Regions from separate parts of the Homo sapiens genome. Here region 2 is linked to region 1. Evidence: promoter capture Hi-C in human tissues and cell types (Jung and others, 2019). All regions are on one chromosome and are shown on one strand. The core of a region is centred on a gene start or on the middle of the fragment in contact, and the rest is flanking DNA. Distances in the headings are between cores, read along the strand shown. Region 1 holds the start of MYOM2 (myomesin 2). Region 2 overlaps ARHGEF10 (Rho guanine nucleotide exchange factor 10).

Evidence for each region. The method cuts DNA at HindIII sites, captures the fragments that hold promoters and counts their contacts. A contact is called where the count stands out against the background at its distance.
Region 2: a fragment that was not itself captured here is called in contact with the fragment with the promoter of MYOM2 in region 1 in 2 of the 25 tissues and cell types used here (heart left ventricle and mesendoderm cells).

What each region holds. Positions count from the first base shown.
Region 1 is chr8:2,042,390-2,047,929 of GRCh38, reverse strand. It overlaps MYOM2 (myomesin 2), which reads right to left and starts at 2,884. Exons shown (of 37, transcript NM_003970.4): 1 at 2,762-2,884. The HindIII fragment of the contact is 6,844 bases long and covers 1-5,540 here.
Region 2 is chr8:1,955,906-1,961,445 of GRCh38, reverse strand. It overlaps ARHGEF10 (Rho guanine nucleotide exchange factor 10), which reads right to left. Exons shown (of 29, transcript NM_014629.4): 29 at 2,805-4,697. The coding sequence ends at 4,183. Among named protein-coding and RNA genes, the nearest start is that of KBTBD11-OT1, 13 kb to the left of the region's middle. The HindIII fragment of the contact is 4,235 bases long and covers 985-5,219 here.

The DNA of each region.
Region 1 (5,540 bases), core at 1,635-4,134:
CAGTCTGTAACGTCCTGTCCAATGCAACCTATGTATCACTGACGTGACATCCGGTCCTGTGGGCCTGGAAGTCTTCAAACACTTCATGTGTGAGGGGCTACACTTTGTAGTGCTTAGCAAGGCAGAGCTGGGATCACGTGTGCACACTTCCTGCAATCCTCACTCCAATGGTACCTTACTGTGGAAGTCTCCCCGGGAAGTCTTTGGATGGGGGTAACAGGGCACTTTGCCACGTTTATCCCCACATGTATTCCCTGCTCACTTCATGCTCAGGACCACCAAAATCAGGAGGTGTCAGAGGCTTTGCAGAATCCATCAGCCTCAGTTGATTCCACAAGTATGGGGTCACTTGCAACGTGCCAGCCAAGCCTAAATCAGAACCCTTGGATTTCAACAATGAAAACACCTTAGAGCTCCTGGCTCGGGAGAGTAGCAAGCTCAAGTCTTCTGCGCATTTGACTCCCAGTGCCAATGTGCCCTCAACTCCACTTTTATCAATCACATGCCCAACCCAGAAAACCAGCAGGACTGCACGTCCAGCCTCACCCACCCTGAATGTGTGTCCCCTCCGCAATCTCTTCACTCCTTGGGGGACTTCCTATGTTAGAACTTCCCCAGTGTCCCTCACCCAGCCTGGGCCACCACCTCCTGGCCGGGTGTGATGACGTCTTTGCAAGCAAATCCCCACTGACTCAGCACGTGCTGGGTGCCTGCAGCCCTGGCAGCACAGGGCCCTTCTGAGTGGAGGGAACCCTGGAGAGGACTTGCCAAATGCACCCTACAGGTGGAGCATCCCTTATCCAAAATGCTTGGACCAGAAGAGTTTCCAATTCCCGATTTGTTTTTCAGACTGTGGAATACTTGCATTTATACTTACTGGTTGAGCAACTCAAATCCAGAAATTGGATACTTGAGATGCTCATGTAAGCATTTCCTTTGAGAGTCATACCAGCGCTCACAAAGTTTCAGAATTTAGAGCATTCTGGATTTCTGATCTTCAGATTTGGAATGATCAACCTGTACTATTTATGACACTATAAAGAAAATGACAGGACCTGGGCCGATCAGCTCCCCAATGTCCCTCTACTGTCTACATAGAAAGCTGTTTTCCTTTTTAAGGAACTATCTCAGACATGTGTTAAATACCCCCTACACACACCAACCAAAAAAAAAAAAAAGAAAAAAGAAAGAGAGAGAGAAAGAAAGCAGCTTTTCCTCGCAGGGTAGTTTTTGATGTGAGTCCCTGGGGCTCAGGCGCATTGGGAGGCTGAGACTCCAGTGGGGACCTGCTGACCTTCAGCTCAGGGGCCTCCACCTGCTCTGCTGTAAAACAGGGGGCTGAGTGAGGTGGCAGCTAACAGTCCCCCAGCTTGGACAGCCTGTGTGTAGATAATCCTGGCGCCACGCTGTACTGTTAGCACAGACCGTCCCCAGGGAAATATGACTTGCCCGGGTCACCGGTAGGGCCACGGCCGAACCCAGGCGCCAGCTGACTCTCCTGACAGCGTCCAGCCCACTTTCCACCACAGCCCAGCTCCCCGGCCACTCCCGGAATGCTCCTGACACGTTTAGGAATCATGACACCAGGATGAAACGCGAGCCTCTCCTCCAGTGCAGGGGACCACGTGTCTGATATCCCCATCCTAATTCCTTCCTGCAAACAACGTGTGGAGCCCATTCCTCATGTCACCAGGATGGGTTTTAATTTGCAAAAATGTTTGAAGTACAAAACATTGACTTCCACTTAATGAAGGAAATTGTTTGTACAGTTAAAAATGTCAAAGTCAATAAATACACCAAATTAAAGCTTTCTAGAGGGGAAAGGGACTCCCAGACACGCAGCGTTGGCCTGTGCCACAAGTGGCTAAGCCCTTGGCTCCCAAGACAAGTTTTAGCTTGGGACTTGGTTTATTAAATAACGCCTTAAATTATCTTTGTTCCACGCTTTCTTTGAGTCCTGTTTTACTTCTACTTAGTAAGAAAGGAATGTGAAATGGAGAATTAGAAAAGGCCAGGTGTTCCCAGTGATGGCAAACCCCTTCCTTCCGTTTGCCTCCGGTGCCTTCCACGTGCAACCACCCAGCCCCACTGTCTTTCTCCAGCAGGTTGCATTTCAAGAGCACGCCCTGAGAAGGCACAGCCTCTATCAGCGGAGTGGAGCTGAAGAAGTCTGAAGGGTCACAACACACCCAACAGCACAAAGAAGAAAACAGCCGTAAGAACGCTGTCATTTTTGGGCAAAAACTTGCAAGTCCTGACAAGGATTGTTCTCTTTCCCATACCGTGGATAATATAGGCTAGGTCTAAGCTGAATGACCCTCGACTCTTTTTTCCCTTAAGAAAATATCCAGTTTTATTATTTCACACCTTTATAAGTCAGCCCTCTCCTCGGGGGAGGCTTTCGTTTCTGAGAATCTCATGAAACTTGCAGACATCAGTCCACTGACTGGGGGGCCCCCTGGGGCCACGATGAGACCAGGGCTAAAACCCAAAGCACACGCCGCAGGGTGCTAAACGGCACTTAGCAAAGACCACGGCTGTGGGAAATAAAATGTTAGTTGAGCATAAAACCTCGTCAAAGAAATACAGATCCCAGAACTAATTGCTCTGTTTTCCACAGTAAAGGGTGCCTGCGACGGGGTGCACTGGCTCTCTCTTCTTGACCCTGAAGTAGAGGTACTTAGAAAATGTGAGTGCAGAAGTTACCGGTCCTCCCCTTAAAGCCACAAATTAGAAAAGGCAAGAAGAGAAAGACACTTACCCAGACAGAAAGGAAAATTGCAAGGAGGAGAGAGAATTCCTGACCACCGGCTCACCAAGCCACCCACACTCCAGCCGAGGAAGGCAGAGCTGACTCCTGCAAAGCAAGCGCCTGTGCCTCCCTCCCGTTTAAGGTCTGAGGAGCTACTATATATAGACGCCTGGGCCTGCCTCTCCCCACATCAATACCCACATCGTAAATCACCAGCCTGACCTCAGGAGGAAAAGCTTCTTGTTCAAACTGAGGGCGGGGGAAATCACGATTCAAAACTGGAACGTGTCCTTTCTGAGTCCCAAACTGCACTTTTCCCAGGAAACCGGGTGTGACACTTCAGCCCCCGACCCAGAAAGAGAGGGCAGGGCACTGACTTCCCACGCTCCCTCCCCGCAACTCTCCTCCATGAGTTCTAATCCTTACGTGTGAATTCTCAGACATATCTTCAATCCTTTCGAGCTACAGGTTCCCTGGCTCACAAATTGCAACTCCTGAATGAGTCTTTAATAATGACATGGATTTCAGTGAGCATTTGTGCCATTCGCAGGCCTGGACACCCGAGTTGAGGTCGGCTGTGGAGGGAGGGAGGTGCACAAGCCCCTGGGTTTGTGAGCGTGTGTGTGCATGTTCGTGTGTTTGTTCGTTTTTTTTTTTTTATTTCAAGAACGACTCAGGTCTTCACTCGATTGTATCTTAGGGCTATTTTAGCAAGAACTGCCTACCCAAAAGAGGAGCGGTGCCTAGTCGGCAAGTCGGGGCTTATTTATAGCCATTACCACAGACGTACACTGCGTCTACACCACACGGATAATTGCAGGGTGCCCGTCGTTTCGCACAGCGTGTGTCCAAATATAGATAACACACACCTGGCACGGTCCTGGGCTGCAGCCTGGCCAAGAGGCGGGGCCTCAAGGGGATGCCCCCATCTGAGGACCCGGAGAATCACACTCCAGCTGCACCTCACCACAGGGGCTGAGGACTTCGGCCAGCTGCTCAGCCCACGGGGGCTATGCTCCCCAGCTCTAAAACGCATGGAATAACAACTTTCCTGTAAGTTTGTTGTGACAAGTAGAGAAAATATGATAAGAGAATTGCCTTAAGAAACTCCACGTTCTCACACTGGGGTATCAGAGGCACAGCCAAGGACCAGCGAGCAGGTGGATGGAGGCGAAGATCAGATACGAGAAAGACGCGAGCACAGCCTCTTGCTGGGCCCCAGAGCGTTCTGGATGCTGGATCAGGAGGCGAGTGTTTCTGTCTTCTTCCCCTTCGTATTCTGATGGCCTAGCATTTAATTTAATTAGTGTTTGTTGAGTGATTTCTTAGTCTATTCAGGCTGCTTTAGCAAAACACCATAGACCGTGTAGCTTATAAAACACAGGAGCTTCTTTCCCACAGTTCTGGGGACTGGAAGTCCAAGATCCAGGTACCAGCAGACACTGCCTGGGGAGAGCCTTCTGGTTCTGGGACGGCGCGGTCCCTGAGTCCTCACCAAGTCAAGGGGCCAGGCCGCTCTTGGGGCCTCTGTATGAGGATACTGATCCCACTCGGGAGGTTCCACCTCCATGACCTTGTCACTTCCCTAAGGCCCCACCTCCTCACACCATCGTTTTGGGGGTTAGGGTTTTAACCCACATATTTTGGGGGGGTTGCAAACAGCAAGACCAGAGCAAGCAATGTTTACTTCCGGTTTATCAGCATCTCCTTCTCTAGCGAATCCATTTCTCAGGGACCTGGGGGACTTCCCTTCAGCCCTTCTGCCCCCCTGCCTCTGAGTGTGGCCGACACTGGAGGGGCAGTGATGGTGCCTCGTCCCCTCAGGTGGCATCTCAGTCCTCTGAGTCCCAGTCCTGGCATCTCAGTCGCCTGGGTCCCAGTCCTAGCATCTCAGGAGGGGACAATCTCATCCCGGGGAGGGGCCTCTCCTGAGAGAAGGAAGGGCCAGCACACTCCTCCTCCTTTTCTGACATTTCACGGTGGCTGTGCCCTCCTTCTGTGATATAGAAATCCAGTGCTGCGTCTAAGAAAGCCTGGATCTTTCAGCCACACCACCCAGAGAGCAGAGTGTGACCCGGGACACAGATAGGCTCCTGATGGGGACAGAGCTTCGCCTTCTGCTGGGGACAGGAGACCCCTCCCCACCCTCCTCGTAGACCCCCATCTCCCTGAGCCATGCCTGCCCCTGCCCACCCGGGATGTAGCTTCCAAAACTCCCTGGGTGAGGTGCACCTGCAGGAAGCCTGGAGCCAAGAAGGGACAAAAGACGGAGGGAGGCGGTGGGACCAGGCATGGGCCCCGCATTCTCCACCAGACACACCAGCTCTGGGGCAGACAGGCTCCTTCTTGCCGGAGTTCCTTGGGCTGACTTTCTATCATCGGCCATCAAGAGAATCCTGACTAAGACAAAGGAAGAGTCCAGCAATCTCATTTCCACAGCTCAAATTGGCAGCCTGTGAATGGAAAACAGTTGGCCTCACTGAGGATTTCCCACAACATAGAAAAGAAGATCGAAATGCAAAGAGTGACATTCTAAAACCACGTGCCTTCAATCCTGTGGAACCCCAGGCCAGACCATTCATGGGTGAAGTTATGTTCTATACAGCAACAATCCCCAACTGTTTTGGCAACAAGGACCGGTTTCGTGGAAGACAATTTTTCCAAGAACGGTGGAGAGGGGGATAGTTTTGGGATGAAACTGCTCCACCTCGGATCATCAGGCATAAGATTCTCATAAGGAGCGTCCAGCCTAGATCCCTCGCGTGTGCAGGTCACAGTAGGGTTTGTA
Region 2 (5,540 bases), core at 1,853-4,352, 87 kb after region 1:
GTGCTGTTACAGCAACGTCTCAGCATAGTCATATCTGCATCACCATGAGGCCGGGCAAGGCGTCTGTGCTGCAGAAGTGGCTCAGCAGGCTTTTCCCCGCTCTTGGCCCCATTCAAAACCGCCAGCCTTAGAGGCTCCCCAGAAATGAGTTGGAGCAGTCTTCCCATGTGTAGTGCATGCTGGGTCCAAACTCCAGAGGTCCCCCAGTCACTGCTCCCCAGAATGGCATGGAGCGTGGGGTATGGTTTGCCCTTTACCTCATAGGGTGTATCAGGGCATGCTCAGATGCTGAAACCCCAGAAGCTTCAATGATGTGGCAGGCCTCCGATATCTCCCAGCCTGAGGCAGGTACCTGCATTCCTAGGTCACCTGGGTTCTCCCAGGTCCAGGCAGCATGAGATCATCGACACAGTAGTGACCCTGTGGCCTTATAGTAAAGCCAGTGTTGACAGCACAGTGGGCAAGGCAGTAAGTGTACTGCAGTCCTCGCCAAGTCAACACAAACTGTCTTCTCTCCATGGATAGGGTGTGGAGAAGAGTGCAGTTGCTGAATCGGCAGCTGTGCTGATCTGTTCTGGTAAAGACGCTATTTGTCACAGCGGCTGTGACTGGAGAGACTACCTGGTCACGCTGCAGGACCCCACCGCCACCTTCCATCACAGCCTGGTGTCTGCAGTGCCCAGTTCCATGAATTACATGGGAATTGGCGGGCACTGGAATTTCACCATCCTTTGAGCCTCTGACAGTGGCTCTGATCTCTGCGATTCCTCCAGGAAGGCAGGATGGATTTACTAATTTGGTAGGAATGGGGAGGGGTGTTCAGAGCCTTCCAACTGATGGTCCCTAATTCAGTGGCTCTGACTTCACAGGTTAAGGAACCAGTGATGGTTTCTGCCAGCTGCCAGCTCTGTCCATCCCAATTATACACCTGGAGACCCATAGGCCCTTGTGAGACGGACATGGGCCTAACTCTACGCGCCATGTGGCTTTCATAAGACCCCTCTACAGCCCAAGGTGCCGCTCTGCTTGTCTGCTCAGCGGCGACTCAGAGCCTGGACAGTTTCCAAGGTCTGCTCTTTCCCGTTACCACTGCAGTCTTCCCAGCACACGCATGCAGGTCCCTTTGGGGAAGCATCGACCAAAGGGACCTGCAGCCTACGTGTGGGGTCCTTCCTCAGGTGAACCTGACTCCCCCTTCAGTCAGTGAGCTCCGAGCCTGTGAGCTGACTCAGGTGTGGGACTTGGACCATGACCTGCAGGTTTTTGTTCATTGCTGAGCAATGCCTCTTGGTGCCTTCCTGTCTCCGTTCGGGCTGCTGTGATGAAACACCAAGCCTGGCCACGCCCCAGAGGACAGGGGCCCCATCAGGAGGTGAGATCGTGATGCCAGCCAGGCTCCTTGTTGATCAAGTTACCGAGGGTCTACCCAGCAGATGGGGGCCCGGAAGCTGGGGGAGACGCAGCCATTTGGCCCTGGGCTCCCAAGTGTCCTGCTGTCACTGGGTTAATCCCTGTCCAGGAAGAGCCCAGGGCTCTGCAGAGGAGAGGGGGAATAAACCAGCAGTGGCAACCCCAAAGGGAGGCTTTTTCTCTCTTGTCCCATCCTCAGGGCCTAAGACAGAGCTTGGCCTCACCTCTGACACTCATCAGGTGCTCAGTAGAAGCTTGTTGCTTAGAGAACGCACTTGCCTGTCTGCACGGCTTCATTTGTTGGTGATATGCTTGTTTTCCTCATTCACTGTGAAAGCAGAACCCGCGTCCTGGCATAGCGGGAGTTCTTTGTAGCCCACGTTCTCCAACCTCTTCCTCCCTCAAAGCCCTCCCGCGTCTGCCTCTCTCAGGATCTCTGGAAGTCTCTCTTCTCTAGGAGGGCAGAGGGAGTTAAGGAGTCAGTTACACAGACCCCACTCTGTCCATGTCCCGCACCATCAATCGTGTGGAAAGATTTCTGTCCCAGCAAGTTAACTTTACACATCCATTTCATCTCTCCATGTAAGGTGTTGGCCCTGGTCTGGTAAAACACCCACAATAGGAACATTTTACAGGAAACTCATTCTACTCATAACTCAAAATGGAATGGCCAAGTGTAGGCTGGGCATGACTGTGAAGTCAGAACCACTGAATTAGGAACATCAATTGGAAGCCTCTGAACCCCCCTCCCCTTTTCTACCAAATTAGTAAATCCATCCTGCCTTCCTGGAAGAATCGCAGAGATCAGAGCCGCCATCAGAGGCTTGAAGGGTGGCAAAATTCTGCCAACCAACTCCTGGCTCACACTAGGAAACTTAGCACTTTGGGAGGCTCAGACACGAGGACTGCTTGAGGTCAGGAGTTTGACACTAGCCTGGACAACATAGCGAGACCCCATCTCTACAAAATGTTAAAAAGAAAAAAAGAGTTAGGTGTGGTTGTGTGCATCTGTAGTCCCAGCTACTCAGGAGACTGAGGTGGGAGAACTGCTTGAACCTGGGAGGTTGAGACTGCAGTGACTGTGGGAGCCCAGGGGGTTATGGTGAGCCATGATCACGCCCCTGCACTGCAACCTGTGCGACAGAGGGAGACTTTGTCTCTTCAAACAAATAAAGAACAAGTACATGAGTTGCTTGAAAGATTCCCAGTGCCTACTTCCAATTCAGAGCGCGGTGCTCCACGCAGTTGGGTGCGTTGCTGGGATTCAGACACGGAGTCTCCCCAAAGCAGCAAGTGGTGATGCAGCTAGGAACGGGCAGGCCAAGCCCCCCACCCAGCCCCCCGAGGTTGATGTCCCTTTCCACTTGACACAGAAAAGAGGCAACTCATCCTACTGCATTTTAAAATAAAAATACTTTATTGATGAAGTCAGACAGCAGCTAACAGTTTGAGAAGCTTGGGAAGAAATCACTTTCACATGGGGGATATATGCAACCTAGAACATATTTGGCTAAGTCATAAAATTAACATTTTTAGTCATCTGTAAAGTGCTGAGACATTTATTTCTGGTGCCTGCCTGTGTTAGGATTTTTTTCTTGTTATCCGTCCAGTAAGTGAAACACTGAAATACACGTTCAGCAGGATGGCGCTCACTAAGTATGCACCTTGACATGATGGTGTGCACTCATTATGCACGTTCTCACGCGGGGCTGGCTCTGCAACTGCAGAATAGAAACTGATGCGTTCTGCAGAGGAGGCGTCTGCACAACAGACAGGCTGGCCCGAGGTCACGCCTCTTGGCCTGAGTCCCGCTCAGTGACAGCAGCCAGCATGGCCTAGCACCAGGAGTCATTCGGAGCGTGCGTGCTAAAGCAGACACAGCATTCCACGTCAACAGGGGCAAGAAGCTGCACGAAGGAACTAAGCAAGACTTCTCTGCCTATCTCCTCTAATACTAAAGCACACACTTTTCTCCTGTGGATAGTCACTCTATTTATACGAGAAGGGAGGAATAATTTGGTGTTGATGCTTGAGTCCAAATGTTGATAGGCACTGAGCATTTTGGTTCAAAGCAAACATTATTTGTGAAATGCTACAGATAATACATTGACTGAAACATTAACTGTTAATTTTTTAATAGAAAAATGCAATACAAAAATATTACTTTGTTAAAATATACAGTACACACATTATACCACTTTGGAAAACCCAGCTCACTTCTGAAAGCAAATCATGCTAACTGGACTGGTAGGTGTTACCTGGCTTTTAAAATTGTTAACAAATTTTACTCTGAAATTCAAAAATATAGAATATAAATAAAAGTCGTGAATCTGAATCAGGTAAAACTTTTAAGAATTGTTAATAAATGCCTGCACTACTGAATACATATATTTTCTCATAAATTCTTAGTCTGCAAATTCTCTAATATGATACAATAGGTCTGACGCTGATGAAGTTTAACATTTAGTATTCACATATGGACTACAGCAGTCAAAAAGAATGTGGTATTTTCCCAGAACTGCACTCAATTACTCGAAAATTGCATCAGTCTTCTGCCTTCGTGAGAAGTGCTTGTAATTACTTCTGCTGTACAGAAGAGAAGGAAGGAATTGGCAGGGACACCACCATTACGCTATTGCACGTTTCTCCCCCAAATACTGTTTTTAATTTATTCCCAACCAGTGTAGACACAGCTTAACCACTCAGGCTGTAGGATTAGCTGAGAAGTCACCCTTGATTGCAAATTCTGACAGCAGAAGGCGGCCGTCCTGCTTATATATTCAGCAGAGGGATCTGCCAGACCATGACGGTCGGCGCCAGCTCTTCCTGGTGGGGCTGCCGGGCCTTCCTGTGCACCCGGCGGTGGCCCTGCCCTCCACAGACCACCAGCGCCGAGCTGGCCTTGGCTTTCTTGGCCCGGCGTGCTTTGCTTCTCAGCGAGACAGGATCCTTCAGGAGATCATAGATGGTGCTGTCCTCTGATCTGTGCTCTAGAGAGCTGGAGCCGTGAGACAAGCTCAGGGACCCAGATGAGGAGGACAGGTCGCTTTTCTGAGTCATCGATCCCAGCGAATCTCCCAACCAGATGGCTGCGTCAGGGTCACCCTGGCTCAGAGATGAACCAGCTCCTCCACTCGGAAGTGCGTCCTTCTGGTCTTCGTCCTGAGGCTCGGGGCCAGGAGCCAGGCTGTCCCTGGATTTGTCCTTGTCTTTCTCGTGCAGAGCCGTGGCCAGGACGATGAATTTGACAGGACTGTTGTGTGCATGGTAGGAGACCATGCCTCTTCCTGAAAAGGGAAACAGTTCAACAGCTGTCTTTTAAAATAGGCAAAATTTGAGACAAGGAAGCAAAAAGTGCAGGGCTTAACCCCAACGCATTCCTCCCTGCCCAAATAACAAAGCCTGTAAGTAACTTGCATACATGAATAATAAGCTACGATGAAAATATCTGGATTATATTCCTCTGGGTTTTTACTTAATGTGAAAAAGGCTTTAAAAATGATTTTCTAAAATAGAAAGTTGTGTTTTCCTCAGCACTATTTCAGTTCTAATACTCCTACTGTACTTTTCAAAGTAATAAAATAGTCATTTTTCCATTCTGCATAAAATACCTTCTTACTTACCCTATGGAAATATCCCAAATTTTCCTAAGTCTTGATTAGAAATATTAACGCCTGAAATGTGTTGGTTTGGGAAAGAAATGACTAAACTACCGGCTGCCTGCCATTTTTCATTACAAAAACGTTCTGGGGTTCAGAACAATTTAACTCTATAATTTGATTAAAATTAGGACTTTCAGTTTTCAGGTGATGTGATTCAAATTTTAAAGTCACGATCGTATCAGAAACACCTGCAGGTCTTCTTAAAGCCACACACAGCCCCGCAACCCCCACACTGATTCTGTAAGCATCACGTGGACCTGGCGTGTCTTCTGGATGCTTTGTGGGTGACATGACATATGGACAGGGGCACGTGTCCTTTCCCCAAGTGCTTTCAGATGAAACAGGCCCCAGCCCTCACCATCATCCTACTCTGGCCAAGGCAAATGACATCACTGAATCTTCCACCGTGGTGAGAGTCCATTTCCCAAAGAGGAGAGTGGCAAAGTGAAGTCTGCAGGGAGCAGGAGC